Linked DNA regions of Homo sapiens: regions 2, 3, 4, 5, 6 and 7 are each linked to region 1. Evidence: promoter capture Hi-C in 16 types of primary human blood cells and fetal thymus (Javierre and others, 2016). All regions are on one chromosome and are shown on one strand. Each heading gives the region's core, a stretch centred on a gene start or on the middle of the fragment in contact. The rest is flanking DNA. Distances are from core to core; before and after follow the strand shown.

What was found. The method cuts DNA at HindIII sites, captures the fragments that hold promoters and counts their contacts. A CHiCAGO score of 5 or more calls a contact.
Region 2: a contact is called between a fragment that was not itself captured here and the fragment with the promoter of EFNB2 in region 1, in 1 of 17 cell types (fetal thymus). The highest score is 5.9, in fetal thymus.
Region 3: a contact is called between a fragment that was not itself captured here and the fragment with the promoter of EFNB2 in region 1, in 1 of 17 cell types (fetal thymus). The highest score is 8.8, in fetal thymus.
Region 4: a fragment that was not itself captured here is called in contact with the fragment with the promoter of EFNB2 in region 1 in 1 of 17 cell types (M1 macrophages); the score reaches 5.6 in M1 macrophages.
Region 5: a contact is called between a fragment that was not itself captured here and the fragment with the promoter of EFNB2 in region 1, in 1 of 17 cell types (M2 macrophages). The highest score is 5.1, in M2 macrophages.
Region 6: a contact is called between a fragment that was not itself captured here and the fragment with the promoter of EFNB2 in region 1, in 1 of 17 cell types (fetal thymus). The highest score is 6.6, in fetal thymus.
Region 7: a fragment that was not itself captured here is called in contact with the fragment with the promoter of EFNB2 in region 1 in 1 of 17 cell types (fetal thymus); the score reaches 5.7 in fetal thymus.

What each region holds. Positions count from the first base shown.
Region 1 is chr13:106,533,869-106,537,096 of GRCh38, forward strand. It overlaps EFNB2 (ephrin B2), which reads right to left and starts at 1,794. Exons shown (of 5, transcript NM_004093.4): 1 at 975-1,794. The coding sequence starts at 1,096. RefSeq lists a silencer at 1,582-2,241 and an enhancer at 2,822-2,891. The HindIII fragment of the contact is 2,990 bases long and covers 222-3,211 here.
Region 2 is chr13:104,534,511-104,537,738 of GRCh38, forward strand. No RefSeq gene overlaps it. Among named protein-coding and RNA genes, the nearest start is that of DAOA, 930 kb to the right of the region's middle. The HindIII fragment of the contact is 3,270 bases long and covers 149-3,228 here.
Region 3 is chr13:104,555,804-104,559,031 of GRCh38, forward strand. No RefSeq gene overlaps it. Among named protein-coding and RNA genes, the nearest start is that of DAOA, 910 kb to the right of the region's middle. The HindIII fragment of the contact is 6,001 bases long and covers 1-3,228 here.
Region 4 is chr13:104,748,760-104,751,987 of GRCh38, forward strand. No RefSeq gene overlaps it. Among named protein-coding and RNA genes, the nearest start is that of DAOA, 720 kb to the right of the region's middle. The HindIII fragment of the contact is 2,498 bases long and covers 327-2,824 here.
Region 5 is chr13:104,792,360-104,795,587 of GRCh38, forward strand. The region is part of intron 3 of LOC107984606 (a long non-coding RNA gene); the gene reads right to left. Among named protein-coding and RNA genes, the nearest start is that of DAOA, 670 kb to the right of the region's middle. The HindIII fragment of the contact is 3,195 bases long and covers 1-3,121 here.
Region 6 is chr13:104,878,577-104,881,804 of GRCh38, forward strand. All of the region lies in intron 1 of LOC107984608 (a long non-coding RNA gene), which reads left to right. Among named protein-coding and RNA genes, the nearest start is that of DAOA, 590 kb to the right of the region's middle. The HindIII fragment of the contact is 1,713 bases long and covers 798-2,510 here.
Region 7 is chr13:104,930,334-104,933,561 of GRCh38, forward strand. LOC105370343 (a long non-coding RNA gene) reads right to left here. Exons shown (of 3, transcript XR_001749998.1): 3 at 1,019-1,054. Among named protein-coding and RNA genes, the nearest start is that of DAOA, 530 kb to the right of the region's middle. The HindIII fragment of the contact is 2,950 bases long and covers 142-3,091 here.

The DNA of each region.
Region 1 (3,228 bases), core at 544-3,043:
CAGATGACTACGAGTTATGACCACACAGATTTAGGGATGGATGGGATTTTCTAAATTCTGAATGCACTCTGGTGGCCCAAACTGAAAGTTACTCTCCACAAGGCCTGGCTCGCTCCCGGCTGTAGAGTCCGGTAAGAGCAAATCTGATCCTAAGGATCCCATTCCTACCAGGGTCCCGAGGGAGAAGGCTTCAGGAGCAGTGTCGACTGGGCAGGGCCCTAAGCTTTTATAGGAAGTGCATTACAATCAGGTCGGCCATCGAGACCGCATACTCCGGGGCTACCGGCTTATGAACGAAGCGGGAGGCCGAGGTGCGGCGGGCCCTCAGGGAGAAGCCTAAGGCCCGTCTCCCCGGCGCGGAGGAAAGGGCTCGACGCCCGAGTTCTCCTGCGAAGCAGGCGAGCTCCCCGCGCACCCTCGGGCTGGCGGCGCGGTGCCAAGGCGCCCCGGCTCCAGGGCTCTGCGGGCAGCGTAGCGACTCCAGGCTCCCCTCTCCAGAACGCGCTTCGCTGCCAGCGTCCTGCCACCCCGGTCGCCCGCCCGCGGGCCCCGGACCACGCCGCCCGCGCTCCCCGCGAATGCAGCATCTCCGCCTCTCTCCAGAGCCCACCAGTCCCCGCGTGCCGGCCAGCCTAGATTGTGGCCATGTCCTTCGTCCTCGAAAACAGGAGAGGGTCAGGTATCGCCATCGGACACCTTCCCGGACTTGACACCCGAGCCGATAGTAGCTTTTAGCGCCTGGGAGCGTTCGGGGGAGGAAAGGCGGAGAGACCGTCCGTTCCAGCGGGGCTCGGGTTGGAAAGCCGAGCGAGGAGTCTCCACCTAGTGAAATGGGGCGGGGGTTGGGGGTGGGGGACGGGGAACCGAGGTTCCAGAAACAGGCTCCGAGGCCCCGCGGACTGACCCCTCCTCCCGCCCGGACGGCGCGGCGGACCCCGGGGCGGGGACATAGGGGGATCGCGGACGCCACTTACTTGGAGTTCGAGGAATTCCAATAGATAGGCTCTAAAACTATCGATTTGGAAATCGCAGTTCTGCATAAAACCATCAAAACACCCCAGCAGTACTTCCACACGGAGTCCCTTCTCACAGCCATGGCGAAGCCACTCCCAGCTCCGCGCACTCCGGGCCAAGAAGGGACTGACGGGACGCAGGCTGGGACCCCCAATCCTCCGGGGCAGACTGGCGGGGAAGACGGCGTGCGCCCGCAGGCAGCTCCGAGGCGCGCTGCGCAGCTCCAGCGGTCGCCGGGCCAGGTGCGCTCGCTCTCCGGGGCCCTCAGGGCGCGGGGCGGGAGCGCACGCGCGGGGCGCGGCGGCGCGGCGGACTCGGGGTTCCGGGGCGCCGCGCCGGACGCAGCTCGGACGGCCGACTCCCGTGCGGCTCCAGGGTGCCGGGCCGGCCGCGGCTGGCGGGTGGGCGCGGGGCGGGTGCGGGCTGGGACACAAAGACCCGGAGCGGAGACGACCGGCGCGGGCGGCGGGCGCTGCGCCCCGAGCGGGGCCGCCTGTGACTATAGATCCAGTGCAGCGGGCAGCGGCCCGAGCGCGCGGGCGCCGCGTCGGCGCGGTTCCATGTCCCGGAGCACGGAGCGGAGTAGGGCGCCTCCGGGCGCGCAGGAGCCTTCTCAGTCCGCGCGGCTCCCGGCCCCCAGGGCAGGAAAGAGGGAGCTCGGTCCCCGCCGCGGGCTCCGGACGCGCGCGGGCCTTTGTGTGCGGGGAGGGCGCCGGGACCCGCTGCGTGCGCAGCTCCTCGCTCCGGCCGGCGCCGCGGTCCCCGCCGAGGAGAGTCAGCGCGGCCGCCGCGCTGTCAGAGCGCTATAAACGCGGGGCCCCGCCCCGCCGCGCGAAGCCCATTGGCCCGCGGCTCCGCGGCCGCGCGCTGGTTGGACGGCCGGTCCGTCCGTCCGCCATCCCCTCCCGACATTGGGTGCCGCGAGGCGGGGCTCGGGCTGACAGGTGAGCCCCGCCCCTGGCTCCCGCGGGCGGCGGGAGCGGAGCAGAAGCCGGGCAGGAGAAGCGCTCAGCGCGTGCACAGGGCGCCCCCGGGGCGGCGAGAGGCCTTCTGGGCGCGGTGCAGACGTGGAAACAGCGACGGCCGAGTAGCGGGCCACCTGTCTCCGCGCCCGGGGGCGCCTTCCCCCTCGGCGGAATCAGAGGGCGCGGCTTTCCCTCGAGCAGTGCGGAAGGCAGCAGGCTCCGCTCGGCGTCCCTTCTCCGCAGATGCGGCGCTGCCCCGCGTGCAAGACTTGCACTCCGCGCGCACCCTTAGAGCTCCCGGCTTCTGCGCGCTTCTCCCGACGCCTCTCGGCGAGGGCTTCTCACTTGATTTTGGTACCAATCGCCTACGGCTCAGTTTCAGTCAGTGGGGCCGGGAATTGCAAGACGATTCCTGCGACGCGGCGCCGGAATTTGCAGCTCTAATCAGGGCCTGAGCATCGTCGCCTCCCGCCTTCTCTGCGGGCGTCTCCCTTCCCTCCTGGCCCCCCGGGAAGGTGGCGCCCCTGGAGCTTTCCCCGCGTGTCGCCGGCACAGGCACGACGCGGGGACCGTCTCACTAGCCTCTAGGAGACACGCGCGCTTCCCAAAGTGACCAGAGATTTAGAGGGTGTGAGATGGAAAAGTCAAGGCATGTGCTTCTCACTCGGCGTCTGCAAGACCCCAGAGCAGAGCTGGCAGGAACTCCTCGCTACTTTCCCGGTCGAGCGCCGGTGCTGACGCTCGTCCGTGACTTCCACGGAGCCACAGCGCCCACTAGCGGCCAGCTTTGCTTCTCCGCATCTCGAGCGCTCTGCGGTCCACCGACCCGGATCCAGCATACTGCAGCATCTAATCAAGTCACAGTTCCAAGGAAAATCTTTTTATATGTCCAACAGTAGGAAGAACACGGTAGAAATAAGGCACAGTGCAAATGTACGATTCAGTATGAAAAATTAAAATATACTGTATGCCCACGTTTTTTTTCAATTTAATGCCGTCCACCCCAGGATTTATGTTTCAAACACAAACTGGGCAGTAATTCTACAAATTATGTATTTTTAAAACAAAGTATCCACTACGCTAAATTTAAAAATGCATATGGTAAAACACCTTGTTTTCTTTCACTCTTCTTTGTAACAATTTCTGAAGATTTTTATGGTACGTTGCTTTTAAGTATCCGTTTTTGAAACATTAGTCTAACTTAACGTATACATCTCAGTTGGAGTGGTAAAAGCTTGTGAAGACTAGT
Region 2 (3,228 bases), core at 534-3,033, 2.0 Mb before region 1:
GATATAACTTTTGTTAAAATAGATTCTACCTGTGGTAAAATCAATTAGAAGCACATCTAGAAGGGAGGAAGCAATAGATATTCTCTTCTTCTAAAGAACAAAACAAAACAAAAACATTTACGAACCTGTTTAACAGTATGTGTTCCAAAGCTTATCTGGCAGTTTTATTTGCTAAACTTAATGAGAGAAAGAAGACTTGTTGTTAAAATATGAAATGTATTTATTAAGAATCACATTTATTCAGTATTCACTTGATATTCAGCACCATTCTAGGCGCTGGGGCAGGACAATGAACCAAACAGTCATGTCCATGTTTTCCTGGAGTTATATTCCAGGCAGGAAGAAAGAAAATGAACAATGGGGGAGAAATTCTTCAGAGGATTGTAAGTCCTAGAAAAAAATAAACCGGGTAAATTGTAAAGAGAGTGAAAGTAGATGGGGTGTTGGTGAGATTTCGATCTGACTGATGAAAGGAGCTACCTATGGCAGATCAGGAATGAGAATGACAGATAGGGGGCAGCAGAGCTGAGATCCTTAGGCAGGCGCGGGCTTGGTGTTTTTGAAAAACACAAAGGGCTGGGCATGGTTGGCTCACACCTGTAATCCCAGCACTTTGAGAGGCCGAGGCGGGTGGATCACCTGAGGTCCGGAGTTCGAGACCAGCCTGACCAACAAGGAGAAACACCGTCTCCACTAAAAATACAAAATTTAGCCGGGTGTGGTGGCACATGCCTGTAATCCCAGCTACTCAGGAGGCTGAGGCAGGAGAATCACTTGAAACCGGGAGGCGGAGGCTGTGGTGAGCCGAGATTGCGCCACCGCACTCCAGCCTGGGTGACAGAGCAAGACTCCATCTCAAAACAAAAAAAAAAAAAAAAAAAAAAAAAAAAAAGAAAACCACAATGGAGGTCAGCGTAGTATGTGTGATGGAGGATAGTAAAGAAGGGGTGATTCGAGGGAGATGAGGCTTGAGCAACGGGCAGAACCAGTATGTGGAGAGACATATTTAAGCTATGGTTAAAAAAAAAAAAAAAAAAGGAGAGCTTTAAGCAATGCAGTAAAATGATATGATTTGTGTTTTAAAATGAACGTGATTCTTGCATAACTACATTTACACACTCTGATAAATAAGAGATCACAGTGATAAAGACCAGAATCTGTATGAGATGCAATTATTGTAATACTATGTGACAATTTTGGGTTTATTTTCATTAACTACTTAGTAATAAAAAGAGATCAGTGGAGGTCTTTGGAAAAATAAAATCTAACTGAAAGATACAAATCTAATCCAATAATATCACTCAAAATCTTATGAATAACCACCAAATGATAGTATCTAGAAATTTAGTTCTGCTATTATGATTCAAACTTGACCTACACTCACTTTTAAAGTGCTGTCAACAAATTAATTATTGGATATCTACTATATATTACATTACTGTTAACATGACCAGGGATCTGGAATTCTCTATTCAAATCTGCCTTATGAAAGATAAGCAATATAATTGTATTACCTGTATGCATACAGATATACAATTTAATATTTCCTTTCAATAAAAGCTCACTTTGTTGTATACTGTAACTTTCTATAGGGAGACAATAAATGTTGAATTTTGAAGATTAATGCAATGATAACATGACAATACTTTTAAAAGATCCAAAAATCCAACTTTCCACAAAGAAAATTTATTCTTTGCATTTGGTAATAGAATTGATATCATTTAATATTTAGCATTCTTATCACTATTTTGAATTTTGAATAATTATTATTCAAAAATACTGCTAAAAGAGCACCATATGTAATAATGATAGATTTATCAATGAAATTGAATATTACTTTATCCCTCTGTTGCTCAGTATTAGCCAATGATTAGAGCCTGACCTTCTCCGAAGAACTGAATCATTTGATCATGTCTATTTTATGTTTATAGTTTATATGCTTTGGTACACAGAAACACAGCTTCCCCAGAGATGTTCATCCTCTAATCCCAAGAACCTGTGACTATATTACTTCACAGTGAAAAGGGGTCTTGTGGATTTGATGAAGTCGACAATCCCGTGATGGGGACATGATCTTAGATTGCCTTGGGTGGTCCTGATGTTATTACAGAGGTCCTTCTAAGAGGGAGAGTGGGTCTGGCATAGTGACTCACACCTGTAATCCCAGCTCTTTGGGAAGCCGGGGCAGGTGGATCATTTGAGGTCAGGAGTTTGAGACCAGCCTGGCCAACATGGTGAAACCCCGTCTCTACTAAAAATACAAAAAATTAGCCAGGTGTGGTGATACATGCCTGTAATTGCAGCTACTCAGGAGGCTGAGGCAGGAGAATTGCTTGAACCTGGGAGGCGGAGGTTGCAGTGAGCCAAGATCATGCCCTTTGCACTCCAGCCTGGGTGACACAGCGAGACTCTGTCTCAAAAAAAAAAAAAAAAAAAAAAAAAAAAAAAAGGGAGAGTAGAGGTCAGAGGAGAGAAAGCAACATGACAAAGGAGGCAGAGATTGGAACGATGAGCCCCTAAGAATAAGAAAAGGAAGACTGGAAAAGACAAGGAACATATTTTCCCTGGAGCCACCAGAAGGAACTTGCCCTGATGATAGCTGGATTTCAGAGACATAAAGTTCATTTCAGACTTCTGACCTCTAGAACTGAACATAATACATCTGGGTTATTTTAAGCCAATAGGTATATAGCCATTTGTTGTAGTGGAAACTAACAAACACGCTAAATTGTATTAATATGATACAACAGATAAGATGAAATTCTAAAATAAAAAAATAATAATAATACATATTCCTAATTCTCTCCTAAGAAGTTGGAAGAGAAGAATTAGGCATTACTTAGAGATGTAAAATTATCATCTACTACATAAAACAACTTTATATTCGTTTTTGTGAAATATACTTGAAAGCAAACATATGAGTTTCCTCTAAAAAAGCATTCAATTGAAAATAACCTTTGGGGATATTGAAGACTATTAGTTTTCAAATATTATTTATGTTTATGTCTCCCTCATATTTTTGGGGGGGAAAAAAGTACGTAACGTGTGGAATTTATGAGGACAAAGTCCTCCCTTCACCTGCATGCACATCTGTGGTCTCTAACCAGAGTCTTAAGAAGCCCTCACATATGTTCATGGCTGAAAGAATGGGGCTAATGCATCTAGGGTGCTTCTGATCACAGTTAGATCTCATCCTATTTCATCCTTTGTGTCATGCACAGGACAGCA
Region 3 (3,228 bases), core at 363-2,862, 2.0 Mb before region 1:
CGATGTAGTGAGAAATGTTAAGGGCAAGGTGGGTTTACAAGGGAAATAAAACCTCATGTCTTGGCAAAATACACTTTGATTTTGTACTTTCACTTCTCTGTGAAAGTGCAAGCTACATATTCCTGTCCATGTTTTTGCCTGGGGGAAAGCCTAGGAGTCTTGATCTCCTCATATGCTTAGGAGGCCACAGAACAACCAACCTGCTATCTACTAAGACATAAACAAAGTGTGCTCTGTAGTAGGAGTTCTCAATATGTAGGCACCATGTTCCCTGGGCCCTGACCCTCTGACTGTAGAGATTGAGCCTTGAGAAACAGAGATACCTCTACTCCCTTATATTTCCCCTCCAGTGTAAATGAAACACCAGCTAGCTGTTGCAATGGATACAGACAGTATTTGCTTTTTGTATTTGCACAATATTTCCACTGAATCAGACCTATTTAGTGTTTTGGTCAGCACTTTTAAAGATGGATCTGCTCCTGGTGATGAAACATTTCTTCTCCTTTTCACGAGACTGCTGGTTGTGCAGGATATGAAAGCACTTTGAAAACTGTCGCGTGCCATGAAGACTTTGCATTCTACATCTCAATGTGTCGTGGCTCCTATGCTTCCTTCCCTCTGTGTTGGCTCCCAGCTGGGCTTTCCTGCCCTTGTCCTCTTTGCTCTTCCCTCAGCCCCACCCAGCCTACGCACAGCAACCAGAATGGTCATTTTCCAACCTGAAGCCTAGGCCACCCCTTCCCAGCTTGCCTTTTCTCTTAGCCAAACTCTACAAGGTACATGTGATCTGGTCCAGCTCTTCTCTCTGACTCCAACCCCATCACACCTGTCTTTTCTCACTCTGCTCCAGACCTTTTCCTCTTGCAGCCACTCCTCAAGTGCACTAAACATCCCCTGCTCATGGGCCCCCAGCCTTGGTGCTTTGCTCTTTCTCGGGTCTACACTCAGATGGCAGCATGTCACAAAGTTCCCTGTCTGAGCGATTACCATTTCGCCACTATCCCACCCGTAAGGACTTTCTCACTCATGCTTCCTTCCTTTATTTTCTATATTGCACTTATCATGGATTGATTCATTGAACACGGTCTGTCTCTCCCCACTCCATTTCAAGTGAATCTCATTTGTCAAATTTGTTCAATAAAAGTTGAATGCTGTGTGAATAAATAATTCATGTCTTTTTTTCTACTTACATGCATTTGATGTCTACCTTTTTGGAACAAGCATTCTTAACTACTTATTGTTATTCACAGTTACCAAACCTATAAATAATGGGGATTTGACTCTCAAGATATTGTTGGAAAATTTCTGCCTTATGAGAAGTTGCCAAGGTAAAATGGTTAAGGGTTTCTTTGGCAGTTCCAAATGGGTTGTCAGCTAAGCCCAATTCAGTTATCATTTGTGTAACTTGGCACAAGTTACTTCACCTACCCATGTCTCAGTTTCTTCTTCCACTGAACAAGAACTGTGACTAAAAAAAAAAATACTACCTCAGAAAATGTCTATGAAGAAGAAATGACATCACATCTAGCCACTCATGGAACAAGACCTGGCCAATTGCAAGCACTCTGTAAATATTCGTTGTTACTATGAATTGAATATTTTTAAAGGGTACACATTTAGGCTCTTAATGAGTATTAGAAGTATTCTATAGCTGACAAATAATTGATTTTTTGAAAATTCATGATATTTAATTTGTTAAAAGTTTAACAAGACATCGTATCCCACATTATACACGTTTTTCATTCTCTGAGTCGATGACACATAGGCTTTATTGAAGTTTATATAGAGATCAGTATAAAAGTTCTTCTTTAAAAGTGTTGAAATCATATACTCTTTAGATATAAAAAGACAAAAATATTTGATGTGGAATCTACGTAATGACTTCTATCTGCTAGTTTCATTTTTCACTAAAAGCATCCATGGGGAACCAGGTATGTTGATATTAGGCTTTATGAAATGGAAATGCCAATTATAATCTAACAAAATCACACATTGCTTCAAATTCAGCTGGGCCACAGCTGGAATTGAATCTGTAAGCTATAATTAAGGCAAATTGTGTGTGTGTGTGTGTGTGTGTGTGTGTGTGCGTGTATATCTAAAATATTGGATAGAGAGATATATATTAAAAACTGTTATTTCTCTTTTTATAAAAAATTAAAAATATAGAGGAAAAATATCCTTCCCAATGGAAATCCAAATTGTATCAATTTCATTAAAGAAACTAAGCTGGTTTTGTAAGACAAAATAGGAATTATATGCATAGCAACGTTGATACAAACAAGATACATTTTAATTTTTAAGAAGTCACTCATTCTTATTCTCTGTGTAACTACTGTTATTATTTGGTGAGATGTATGTTTTGCAGCTAAAATATCCTGGAGATTTTAATAACAATTTAAAAATCAATCAACAGACAATTATTTTCTAGTGTACATTTCCAAATATTATTTAATTTAAGGAGAACTCATACCTCTTCTTTGTAAGCAGATTATTTAAGTGAATAAGAGGCATTTGAATAATTTTGTCTGCTACATACTACAGTATAATATGTTTATTGAATTTGTTCAAGACAGAAAATGAAGATTTGAAAATTATTTTCCTATAATACTCACTGCTTCTATACATTTGTATTTAAATATTGATTTAGAGAATAAAAGTAATTATAGAAATTTAGTATATTTGCTTATTTCTCTAGCACACTTTTTTAACCTAGAAATCTGCAATTTGAAGAAGCTCAGATAGTTTTATAAATAAATTCATCATATTTATGAATGTAATCTTTTTGTTATATTTTTTAACTTTTATTTTAGTTTTGTGGGTACATGTGAAGGTTTGTAACAGAGGCAAACTCATGTCACAAGGGTTAGTTGTACAGATTATTTTATCACCCAGGAGTTGAGCTGAGTACCCAATAGTTATCTTTTCTCTTCCTCTCTCTCCTCCCACCCTCCACCATCAAGTAGACCCCAGCATCTGTTGCCTCCTTCTTTGTGTTCATAAGTTGTCATCATTTAACTCCCTCTTATAAGTGAGAACATGTGGTATTTGGTTTTCTGTTCCTGTGTGAGTTTGTTGAGGATAATAGGCTTCTCTCCCTCTGTGTTGGTTCCCAGTTGGGCTCTCCTGCACTTGCTTTCTTTGTTCTCATCATTTAGCTTCCACTTATAACTGAGAATATGCAGTATTGGGTTCAGATTTGCATAGTGCTTCAATGCAATCAGACCTATT
Region 4 (3,228 bases), core at 326-2,825, 1.8 Mb before region 1:
TTTGCAAAGGAAATAAGGCCTTCATATCATACCAATAAGAAAGAGCCTTAACAGAACCTATTTTATTTCTATACCTTTATGAAAAAAAATCAGCACAGACATTGATATATACAGAAATTACTTCTAGCCTAATGTGAAATACAATAAAATAATTAATAGCAACTTTGTGTTAGGCAACTGAAGGTGTTTCAAATATCAATACAATTTTAATTTATACTTTGACAAAAACACACTGGAACAAAAGGGCTCTATGTAATGTCTAATAATTTCAATGAAATCATTGTATAAATTGCCTTATTTCTCTTAGCATAGCCTTGTGATGCCAAAGCTTGCCTCCCAGAGACATTTTTTATGAGTGACATCAAATATAAAATGTAACCACCTGAAAAGATTTATATTATATCACTATAATAAACAGAGATATGTATAATACATTTTGAATGAATTATCCAAATATTGTCAGGAAAATGGCTTTGGTTATGTCAATATGTGTGTGAAGTGATTTTGATCAATATTTAAATGTCTTTCATCTTACCTGATGTACTATTTGTCATGAATCTTAGTGTCTATTTGTTTAAAAAAGTTAAACCACTTATCTTACCCCAATTTTTAATTTTATCCAAGAAGCCTTTCTTTAAAGAGTAAAATTATGGAGACAGATTGAGTGAAAAAAGCGAGAATATGCTCTATGCCGTTCCTTTTACCTGGAAATCCCTCTGTTCTTTTTCTACCTTTTTTCATAACCTTCTTCACAACCACCATATAGTTGATGTCATCTAATTAATTTTTCTTGGCTCATTCCATTTGACTCTATACGCTTCTTTACTTAGATCATCACCCACACTAACATGTTTAACTTCCACTAGTTTAATGTACACTTGATCATTAATTTTAGTTTAATTCTATACTAGAATACATAGTGCAAGATGACAAGAGCTAATGTCATTGGATTCTTTGGCCTTTCGTCTTATCTTCCATTATCTCCTTTTTAATGATGTACCCCTGAATTCTCATCAATCTTTACTGGCATAGTCTCTATGAACATAGAAAACTGCTTACAAATCTGCTATTTATTACAGTGAATATAAGGACTAATAGTAAAACAATATTTTAATATGAATATGTATTCCTTATTAATGATAGTATCACTAAAATTTTTGGACTTGATTTCAAAATACCAATGTCCTCTCTTCAAAGCATTGTATTATCATTTCAAATATTTAAAGTACAAATTGCATTTATGGCTGTCCCTCTAAGTTGATTTGTTTGTACTTTGGGAGCTTAGTATTTACTAATTCTCTCTGAGTGCCTAGTGCTTTGCAAAAAAAAAAAAAAAGTAACAAAAATGAAAGAAAATAAAGTAATTTTTTTTTTTTTTTTTTTTTGAGACAGAGTCTCTCACTGTTACATGGGCTGGAGTGCAGTGGCACGATCTGGGCTCACTGCAACCTCCGCCTCCTGGGTTCACGCGATTCTCCTGCCTCAGCCTCCTGAGTAGCTGGGACTACAGGCACACACCACCACACCCGGCTAATTTTTTGTATTTTTAGTAGAGACAGGGTTTCACTATGTGGGCCAGACTGGTCTCCAACTCCTGACCTAGTGATCCGCCCGCCTCGGCTTCTCAAACTGCTGGGATTACAGGTGTGAGCCACTGTGCCTGGCCAAAATAACTTTTCTTAACATTGTGATAATAGTTTTCCATTTAAGTAAAATATGGGAGTCTCATCCTATTTAGTTCAGCTTAGGACAGCTTGGTGTACTCTGATCAATCCCTAATGTGGGTGTTCTGCATTTCTTCATCACCATGGCAGGCACTGGCGGAGCTAAGATTCTTACTGTGTGAGCACTGCTAGCATGCTTGATCAGTGAGGTCATGTGCAGGAAGTGCAAAGATTAACCTAGAAGGAGTCTGAATCCTACCTGTGAAACAAAATAGTTAGTAATGCTGCTAGCCAATTACACAGTACTCTCAATCCATAACATTATCATGAAATTCTATTTTTCCATCACTGCATATAGGGTACAGTATTCTTAATACACATTTATTTATTTATTTTTCCTGGTTTAAAATGTACTCTTAATATAAATAACTGTTAAAGAAAAATGGGGAACAACTGAAAGTCCATACAAGTCATTTAAAAAATTGAATGTTTAGATATTGCTATTTCTCTAGCTAGTTATCTTATTAGATAACATTATGTGTAGAGTTGGCTAACTTGATTCTTTTCCACCAGACAACACAGTGAGGATTTTGCCCTTTCAATAAAATATATATATCAAGAGTTGAGAGGAGTATATATTGTGAAAAAAAAGTAATAAGAAAAAATATGGTTTGCCTTGGACTCTGATCCTATTGTGGAAACTAGTTAATGTGGGAAACTCAGATCTCTGAGATTAAAGAAAAGAGTAAGTTTTCTTACATAAAATGTTTCTCATAGGAGAGCCCACTTAGAAATAATGTATTGTAGTAGTTTTTTTTGAATTTGCTAAATATTTTGAAAATGTTGCTTAGTATATACACTCTATGGTCTTATTTTTACATGCTTATTCTCATTTCAGAGTAATTTACTTACAATAGTTTTATTTTAGTTAGATGAAACTTTTTATCATAAGATGTTGAATGTTTTGATTATTGGTGTTTTCAGTGATGAGATGCATCAAGTTCAATAAGACACCTTGAGAATGTACTTTTTCTTACTCAATGATCAATCTTCTTTATATTATGATAATTTCTTCAATATCTGTGAACGTGCAGTATTTTATACAATTTATCAGGGAAAAAATCTTCTCCGAATTATGATAATTGACAAGACAGTAGCAAAGCTTTGAGTCAAAATACTGTAAACAGAGACAAAGAAAACAAATGTGCAGATAATTTATTTCTCATTTTTAAAAATATTTGTCAAACATTCTTTGCAGTGTTGTGGATACCTAGTTATTTCCTAATGTTCTAAAGAAAATAATAATATAGACAGGTAAATTTTAAAAGAAAGCCAAACTATATACACATATGAGATAGACATGTAATATAAGCAGAAAAAAACAGTGACAGTACTCATCACCAGAGAAAAAATTGGTAAAAAAGTAACTGATATGTCTACACTTGAAAAATTAACTGCGAGACTGGAAAAGAATATTTGTGTAAAGCTTGCACTGGAGATGTCTAAGAGTCAACGCTATTTCTGGAGTTCTCTCTACTTCCTCTAAAAGATATGGTCTGGTAAT
Region 5 (3,228 bases), core at 274-2,773, 1.7 Mb before region 1:
TATGACTCTAACAAATGTTTTAAACTACATTTTGAAAGTTATTGGTTTGGTAAAGTTCCAAATACATTTCTTCTTAAGTTACCAACACTAACCCTATGAGCTTCAAAGTATGATGATTTTACATATTGCAAGGGGTTATGCATGCAAAACTTGACTCTGTTTCACAGACATATTGTGTCGTGTTTCAAATAATGAAAGTGCAAGGTGAATAGCTATAAAAATTAATGCACACACCCAGCAACTTTGATATAAGCACTGTTATAGACTAGCTTTGCACGTGAAGTCTGAAATTAGCTTAGAATACAATGGGAAATGCCTTATAATATTTATAATATTTTAGTGATACTGTAATTTCTGTTTAGTTCCAGTATGGCTAAATATTTTATACAAGGATGAGATAATGTTTTAGGACATACTCTAGAATATCATTTTACTTCTTTCACAAATTTTATCTATTCTTGGAAGCTGTTAGTGGGTGATTAGCTGTACAATGTTACAGCTCTGGTCTGACAGGTAGACTTGTGTGGTCATAGATAAACTAAGAAAAATGGATTTACTACTTACATAGTTACCAGTATTATTGCAATAAAATCCCCTAAACTATTTAGAACATTGGAAATACAGATCAGGTAATGGTATATACCAAAAAGTGAACATTTGCCTATTTTTTTAAAAAAAACTTCTCAGTTTTATTGACTAAAAGCAGTGTAGAACCAGTAAAGACCTTAGGGATCATCAGATGGTTATTTCCAAATTGTGCTATGCAGAGTCTTTGTCCTCTACTGTATGGTGTCAAGGACCTCCGAAGGGCAGGACATGAGAAGAACAAGTATATAGGATACCAACTATGTTTATTACCCTTTACTGTATATTGGGGACTCTGTGCAAACTTTGTTTAAGAGAAAGAGAGAGAGAGAGAGAGAGAAACAGAGAGAGAATTTCCACTGCTTAAACAAATGAAACCAATTTAAGGCAATTTTCTCTGTTTAGAGATAAAACATACCAGTGCTTTACAGGGAGGCAAAATGATTTCTTTTTGCTTAATTGTGCTTGTTTATTGACATTTTACAATTCGGTTGCCCTCTACAGCTTCTGTGGTTTTGAACCTATATGGACTTAAAACAACACTGGTTGTTGTTACATATACATATATTACAACACATCGGTTCAATTTTAAGATATACAACACTTTTAACTTGTTTGTTATTAGGAGTCAGAATATTAGAAAATGGTATACTGTGTTTTCGATTTGTTAGTTCATTTTATGTGTTTATTCAATCAGTAAACTTTCAAGGAGGGCTTCCTTTTGACAGGTGCTTGGAAATTAACTATAAATTGGAAAAACCTACAGGTAAGTATATGATTATTATAAATCCTTCAAGGATCATGACAGAGGTGTCTGCAAAAAAATATGAGGAAAAGGAAAGGAAAAACCATACGTAGGGGCAAGTGAGGGTGGGGGAGGGTGTATGAAAAGCTGATTCTTGGTTCGGGAATTTTCCTTAGAGAGACATTGGTTAGAAATATGAACAGAAATTGGAATGGTCCAGGTATTTAAGGCCAAGGACTTTTTCTCAGATGCCCTTTGGTGAAGACACTCCATGCTGGAACATAAAAGTAAGGGAAGTACGCGACAGGGAGTGGAGGGCTGAAGCCCACCTTCCTGAGAAACTGCCTTCTGCAGCTTCAACTCCACCTTCGTCTTTATCCTTTCTTTCTCTTTTTATCTTGGATCTTTCTCGCGTATCAGAGGCCGGGGGATTTTGAACAAGGTTGCTAGCTGCATTTTTTTGCAATAAAATGCTGCTGGATATTGATGACCAAACTTTATAACATATGCTTACATAATACTGCAATGTATGTAATATGAAATGCCATTATATGAGTGTATATTATAGTAGTAGATAGTAATAAGTTTTATATAGTTTTTGATAATTTAATGAAATGTGTCCACTCATCAAAAGAGCTGATGAATCCAGTGTGAAGGAGAAACTGGTAAGCAATAAGGATTGGCTAAATTTGTGGTACAGGGAGCCACTAGCAGAACAAAGCTGAACAGGAGGGTTCAGTCAAGGAGCAGAGGCTGGCTGGCCAAAGAATCAGGCAGGAACACAGCTGTCTTACCAAACAGAAGGAAATGGAAGGGCCACATCTTCATTCAGACAATTGACTAACCAGGAGACAGAAAGGATTACCGTAAAAGGGTCTGATTTGTAGGTGTCAGGTAGCATTCTTAGCTAACATTATTATGATTTGGTTTATGAACCACAGTGGGAGAATCATCTCATCCAGAGACAGGAGCTCTTGTGCAATTAAACTGGAATGAAACATCTTGTGTGTCCTTTTTACCTACCTCTCCCTAACCTGTTCCCACTTACATACATTTGTTTTCTCTTTTTCTTGGCTTATTTCTGCTTAACTTGTCACAGCTCCTATCTGAAGTCCTGGTATTTCGCTTTGCCTCATCTCCTACTTCTGTCATTTGCATGATGTGCTGATTTAAATATCCATCTGCTGACTTTTATCACCACCCATTCTCAACACAATTCTGTGCCTCAGAAATTGTAGGCTTGCCATGTTCTTGTTCCAGAAACCACTGGGACAATAAAGTGAGCAGATTAGATGAACTACAGAAGGGATGGGCCTGAGGCACAGCGGCCTGCTCCTCTCCCGGATCTTGCTAAGGCAGGGCCCACCTTCCTCCCTCTTGCTTGTTATTCCTTGGACAATGCTTGTATTTATGTGGAATTGCAGAGGACTTAATGTTGCCTTTCATATTGTAAATATGTGGCATTGTGGCATCCCACCTTAGCTGCTGGTATTTTCCACAGTTCTAGTAAATTTGACTTTTTATTCCCCTGAAAGCAAATTGTTTCACAATAAATCTAAATCCAAATTGAGGGATTCTAGCACACATCACATTTAGGTAAATGAGTTTCCCATGATATTAACTGATTTGGGTTCAGTGAAGTGGAAAGCACGATAGTGGTAGGAAAACCGTTTTCATGTAGCAGAAAGAGAATGAACGTGGAAAGAGCACCTTTGAGTTTGATTCCAGGCTTGGGTGAATTTCTTACAATTGGACCTCAGGTTAAGTAAGGATAAGTAAGTTGGCTCTTGAAGCTTAAGTTTCCCTACCTGTTAAAGGGGATTATTTACAGCCCCCATCTCACTGAGTTTAAGTAATAATTAAATGCTAGAAACAATATAAAAGTGTCTAGTTAAACA
Region 6 (3,228 bases), core at 404-2,903, 1.7 Mb before region 1:
CGAGACTCTGTATGCATCTATTCACCTAACGAATCTGTTTTCTACCAAAATTCAGGGAGATAATCAGAAGCAATTTGTCTTTATTTCACAGGGCAGCCGTACACCTTCAGTATTTTATTGCAGGTCTACTTAAACTTTTTTGCTCTCAATCGTGATGCAGCCTGCAGGAACTTTAAAAATGTTCATACTCTACCAAACATTACAGCATTTCAGGGATGATATTATGCTTATGCTTATTGGACCTGGTGAGAAGGGAGTAGCAAACAACTCAAGTGCTTCAGCTGATGGCAAGTATGCTGGAAGGTAGCTTTTCACTGCAGGCATTTCATTTGATGGCAAGTATGCTGGAAGGTAGCTTTTCACTGCAGGCATTTCATTTGATGGCAAGTATGCTGGAAGGTAGCTTTTCACTGCAGGCATTTCATTTGATGGCAAGTATGCTGGAAGGTAGCTTTTCACTGCAGGCATTTCATTTGATGGCAAGTATGCTGGAAGGTAGCTTTTCCCTGGAGGCATTTCAGTTGATGGCAAGTATGCTGGAAGGTAGCTTTTCCCTGGAGGCATTTCAGTTGATGGCAAGTATGCTGGAAGGTAGCTTTTCACTGCAGGCATCACTATGAACTTGTGATATATATGGCCACTGTAAGGGCCTAGTGCAAGATTCCAGGAGTACAGAGCATACCTAGTGCCCAGATCTTGATTTCCCAATGTTCATTTCTACTAAATGAACCAGAGCCTGCTACTCGGAGAAATACATGATTCCAGGTCTAATATTTCCATTTTCAAGTGAAAATGCAAGCTTCATTTATTTGTTTATGGAAATGAATAACATGGTAATGTGTTAAACATATTTAATATGAAAAATAATGACTATAGGGATAACTTAAAAGTTTTAGACATATAAGAAGAAAAGAAAGAAGGAAAATTTTACAGAAAATGCTGGGTAATAAATAAAGAAGACATGATACAGTTGGAATCTCTTCATTTTAGAACTAACTTTCAGTGTGAAATTGCTTCAGGCAACGATCTTCAGTTGGGTGACAGGTGGTTGGAGAACAGAGTACTCAAATTGTCTCAAAGTGTTCCACCAAAATATAAGTATCAATTTCAAAGTAAAATAGGTTCCTTTACTATGAAACAATCTGATGGTGACCACCTTCATGCAATTTATTACCTCCTAAAATGTGAACACATGGAATGCCTCCTGACAATATGTGGTGAGCGGTGCCACAAGACTTATGGTATGTTACTATGAAATGTGTAACATGAGCTGGTCTCCAGGAAACACATCAACATATGATTGCTGTGTATTTAACAACAAAACTGGAACAGGAATCATCCAAACTTCCCCTATTATAGAGAGAAGAGCTAAAGAGGCTGTTGAGATTAAAAAATTTTTAAAAAAGGAACTAAAGATAAGCAACCCAGATAAGTGTGTAAACATTTATTGAATTCTAGATAAAAAACAAACCAACAAAAAGACATGAAAGACTCAGGACAAAAGAAAAAAACTAGAATTATCCAGCATATATTAGATTATGTTGTAGAAATAATGTTAATTTTCTTCAACGTGGTAATGGTATTGTGTTATAAAAACAATGTCCTATTTGTAGGATATTCATGTCAAAAATTTTGGAGATATGTATCATGTGTGTGCCATACTTTTAATGGTTCAGAAGAAAAAGAAAAAATAGTCTGCAGCAGAGCTGATCTGAGAGCTACTTTATCTGAATGAGGTACACATCGTTCTTGAGTCGAGAAAAGAAGGGGATTTTATTCTTTGTAACATCTTAAGCAAGATTATTATTTTTATTGTGATATTCATAAAAATTTACTCATCTTACAATGTAAGCATATAGTGTGTAAAAGGCAATTTAGTGTTCAGTTTTGCCAGCTTCTAAAAGTGTACAATCACGTGTTTCTTAACAACAGGGATACCTTCTGAGAAGTGTGTCGTTAGGCAATTTTGCAACCATCATAGAGTGTACTTACACAAACCTAAATGGGATAGCATAGTACACCTAGGCTATAGGGTATGGCCTATTACTCCTAGGCTACAAACTTGTACAGCATGTTACTGTACTGAGTCTAGGAGGCAATTGTAAAAGAATGGCCACTGTATATGTATCTCAACATATGTAAACATAGAAAAGTAACAAACAATATATGGTAGAAAAGGTTAAAAATGGCACACCTGTGTAGGACACTTATCATGAATGGAGCTTGCAGGATGGGAAGTTGCTCTGGGTGAGTGAGTGAGTGAGCAGTGGGTGAATGTGAAGGGCTAGGACAGTACTGTATACTACTGCAGACTTTGTAAATACTGTACACTTAATTTATACAAAATAATTTATCTTCAATAATAAATTAACCTTAGCTTCTATAACTTTTACTTTATAAATTTTTTAATTTTTTTAACGTTTTGGCCCTTGTAATGACGCAGCTTAAAATGCAAGCATATTGTACAACTGTATAAAAATATTTTCTTTGTTTATACTCTTATTCTATAAAGCTTTCTATATTTTAATTTTTTATCTTACTTTATAAACATTTTTTGTTAAAAGCTAAGACACAAACACACACATTAGCCTAGGCCTACACAGGGTCAGGATCATCAATGTCACGGTCTTCCACCTCCACATCTTGTCCTACTGGAAGGTCTTCAGGGTCAGAAACACACATGGAGCTGTCCTCTCCTATAACAGTATCTTCTTCTGGAATACCTCCTGAGGAACCAGTCTGAGGCTGTTTTACAGTTTTTTTTTTTATATAAATAAAAGGAATACACTCTAAAAGGTAAACAGTATAATACTGTTAATATATAAATCCTTAATATAATTGTCTATTATCAGTATCAAATATTACATACTGTGCATAATTATACGTACTAGACTTTTAAGTGCAATAGATTTGTTTATACCAGTGCCACCATGAAACATGAGTAATTCATTGTCCTATGACCTTAAAATGGCTACAATATCACTAGGCAATAGGAATTTTCAGCTTCGTTATATTCTATGAGACTACTGTTGTGTACATGGTCTGTTGACTGAAATATCGTTACGTGGTGTGGGCCTGTGTTACTAACTATTCTGCTATAAATTTCTAATAATATAAAATATTTCTCATCTGTTAACATTTCTACTGGGCTTCAAATATTGGTTTATCGCACTAAACTAATTTACTGTTATTCTCAATAAACATATATCAAATTCTGTTTTTTCTTTT
Region 7 (3,228 bases), core at 367-2,866, 1.6 Mb before region 1:
TTAGCTTACTGTAACTACTTTACTTTATAAACTTAGTTTTTTTTAACATTTTTACTCTTTTGTAATAACACTTAGCTTAAAACACAAACACATTATATACCAGTACAATAATATTTTCTTTCTTTATATCCTTATTCTATAAGCTTTTTTCTTATTTTTAATTTTTTTACCTTTTAAATTTTTTATGAAAAATTAAGACACAGACACACTCATTAGCCTAGGCCTACACAAGGTCAAGATAATCATTTTCACTGTCTTCCACCTTCATAGCTTGTCCCACTGGAAATTCTACCCTATCATCAGGCTATAGAAATGGTTCACCCTGAGACCATTGTCCTATTGGCTGTCCAGTTTTTACTGAAACATCTCCCTTTGGTGTCCACCCAACTCCCAGGCTATCATGTTTAGATTTTGTTTTAGATTATTACACATAGTCTTTCTTTTTGTTAAAAATTTTCTCTTGTTTTTATTCTTTGTTACCGAGGATTTTTTCTTTTTTTTTTTTTTTTTTGAGGCGGAGTCTCTCTCTTTTGCCCAGGCTGGAGTGCAGTGGCGCGATCTCGGCTCACTGCAAGCTCCGCCTCCCGGGTTCACGCCATTCTCCTGCCTCAGCCTCCCGAGTAGCTGGGACTACAGGCGCCCGCCACCACGCCCGGAGAATTTTTTGTATTTTTAGTGGAGACGGGGTTTCACCGTGTTAGCCAGGATGGTCTCAATCTCCTGACCTCGTGATCCACACGCCTCGGCCTCCCAAAGTGCTGGGATTACAGGCGTGAACCACCGCGCCCGGCCCAGGATTTTTAAAGACCGTGTATCAGTGGTTGTTCAGCCTGTCTCTATCCAAACCTTTTCTCTCCTTCCTCAGGGCTATTCAGGTTAAGACCACATTCACCACTATCTTTCCGGGCTAAGTGTGACCACGTGATTAAATATCAGCCAACCCTATAATTAGAAGGGCAACCTTGTTAAAATCAACTTCTGACCTGGATTTCCACTGTTTCATTTTGGTGTCTGGAAATGATGACAGCCAGACCAACCATGAAAGCCTGGAACCCTAGAAGAATGTGTAGAAAAAAGAAACATCTTATTATTATGAACATTTTTTACGTTTAAGAGAACAGCATTATCTTTATTATACTAATCAATAAAAAAAACTTCCCTTTGCTTCAAAGAGTGCAACACTGTCTCTATCTTCCAAGGCTTTTTGCTGTAAAAACATTCTGAAAAAGTAATCTCAACAAAGATGATCATTGCCTCTGCTCTATAACATGTGCAGAAATGAGAGATGCCAATTTTCTACCCTCCAGATTTCTCCACATCATTCTTACATATAGACAGTAAAATAAATGTGTTTAGTCTCAAAACAAATTGAGAATCTAGTATACCTTGCCAAAATTATTATATTAATTAGGAAACAATAGATTTAAAAATATATTTTTGCCATCAAGGGCAACGATATTCTATAACTTTTTCCAGAGTCCTTTACAATTATTTCCACTAGAAAATTTTAAAACACCCCCTGACACACACACACATTATGGTAATCAATAGTAAATATACTGATTGAATTTTGAGGTTAGTTTGGTGATGTGCTAAGTGTTAGTCAGTCAGGACTTTGTAGAGAGCTAACAGTTTTCTCATCACTGACTTAGTGAGTACTCTGGCTTCAAGCTGTTTATCTCATTCTAAAATAAAATGTAAAGATATAAGATTCCTGAAACTTGGAAATATCTATGATTAAAAGTCATAAAAGTCAAAGTCAAATGTTTAAGAGATGTAAAAAAATGAAGTATATAATTATTTACCTATTGAGAGAGAGCGAAAAAAAGAGAGATATGGCCGAAAAAATATCCCTAATATAGTAGTAAATGAAAATAAGTTGCAAAGGTAGAATTATATTTTTTGTTAAAATAAAAAAATTAAATACATATATACTTGCATGTGACTTTACAAAATAAAAAGTGCTTTCTTTAATAAAAAATTTAGCTGAATTAGGAACAGTATTATATAATTAGGTTGCTACTTTAATAATCAGTAATAGTAAAAGTACACATTTGAAATATTCTTACTATGAAGAATATAACAATTTGTTTAACAATTATCAAATACACAAATTACTCATGCTCAAATATAGCTCAAAATATTTTTGTCATATTCAAAAATACTAAATGTAATTTTTTAATATCAACATTTCTTTTGTTTATTAGAAGAAAGCAAATGGCTAGTATACTGGGGGGGAAAATCCCTGTAGTCTTTCTTTGGATAAAAGATTTAAGTTCCTCATACATTTTGATGGACTAGTGATATTAGCAACCAAAGTAGCACTGCTCTAGAAAATGGATAAATGGATGACTACAGTTGGAGCAAATGAAAATGATTTTGCCAGAGGCAAAATACAACATGTTTCCAACAACAGTCATAGTTCCACCAGGGCCATTGGTGAAACTCCATGGTATTATTATATAAGTTGTTTTTACTACAATGACATATGTTAAGCACTTACAAAATGCTTACCCTTAATTGGAATGAGTTTAGCCTGAAGACAGAATATAATTTATTTAATGTTCTTTCACTTGTCACAATTAAATAAATACATTGACTAAATATGTGATAATTTGTAATCCCTTCCTTTTGAGTTCTTTGTAAGGTACATAATACTTCAGGGTTTTGATAATATAGACATTACATCTATTGAATTTTTCCCTCTTCATAATTTTTATTCAAGAGAGTATTTATAATGATAACTAACTAATAATAAATAAACAATGTAAACAAATCTACTGTGAAAACCACATTGACTTTCTAAAATTTAGCCTGGGCATCCATTTGAAATTTCTATGTCATCAGAGATCTGGTTTTTCACAGTACAAAAAAAAACAAACAACAAACACTCTCTCCTTTTCACAATTCTCTTTATTTCCAAAAGTATTTTGTTTCTCTTCCACATTCAATTTATATTCTAGAGAAGCGAGGCTAGAGGGAGAGCTTGTTTGTTTGCAATGCACTGTACTGTTGACGGATAATTTCTTTTATATTGTAGTTGTCATTTTTTTGTTTATTCATTTGGGAAAATAATCTAGGGAAAAAAGTAAGCTTGTCATTCCAATATTCAAAGTTTGTGGTATTTAAAATTTGTTCATGTAAATATATCAACCAAATTTAAAGAGAATAAAGAAGAAACATGCATTTTGTAAAAGGAGCTTAAATGTAATATATGTATATTTTAAA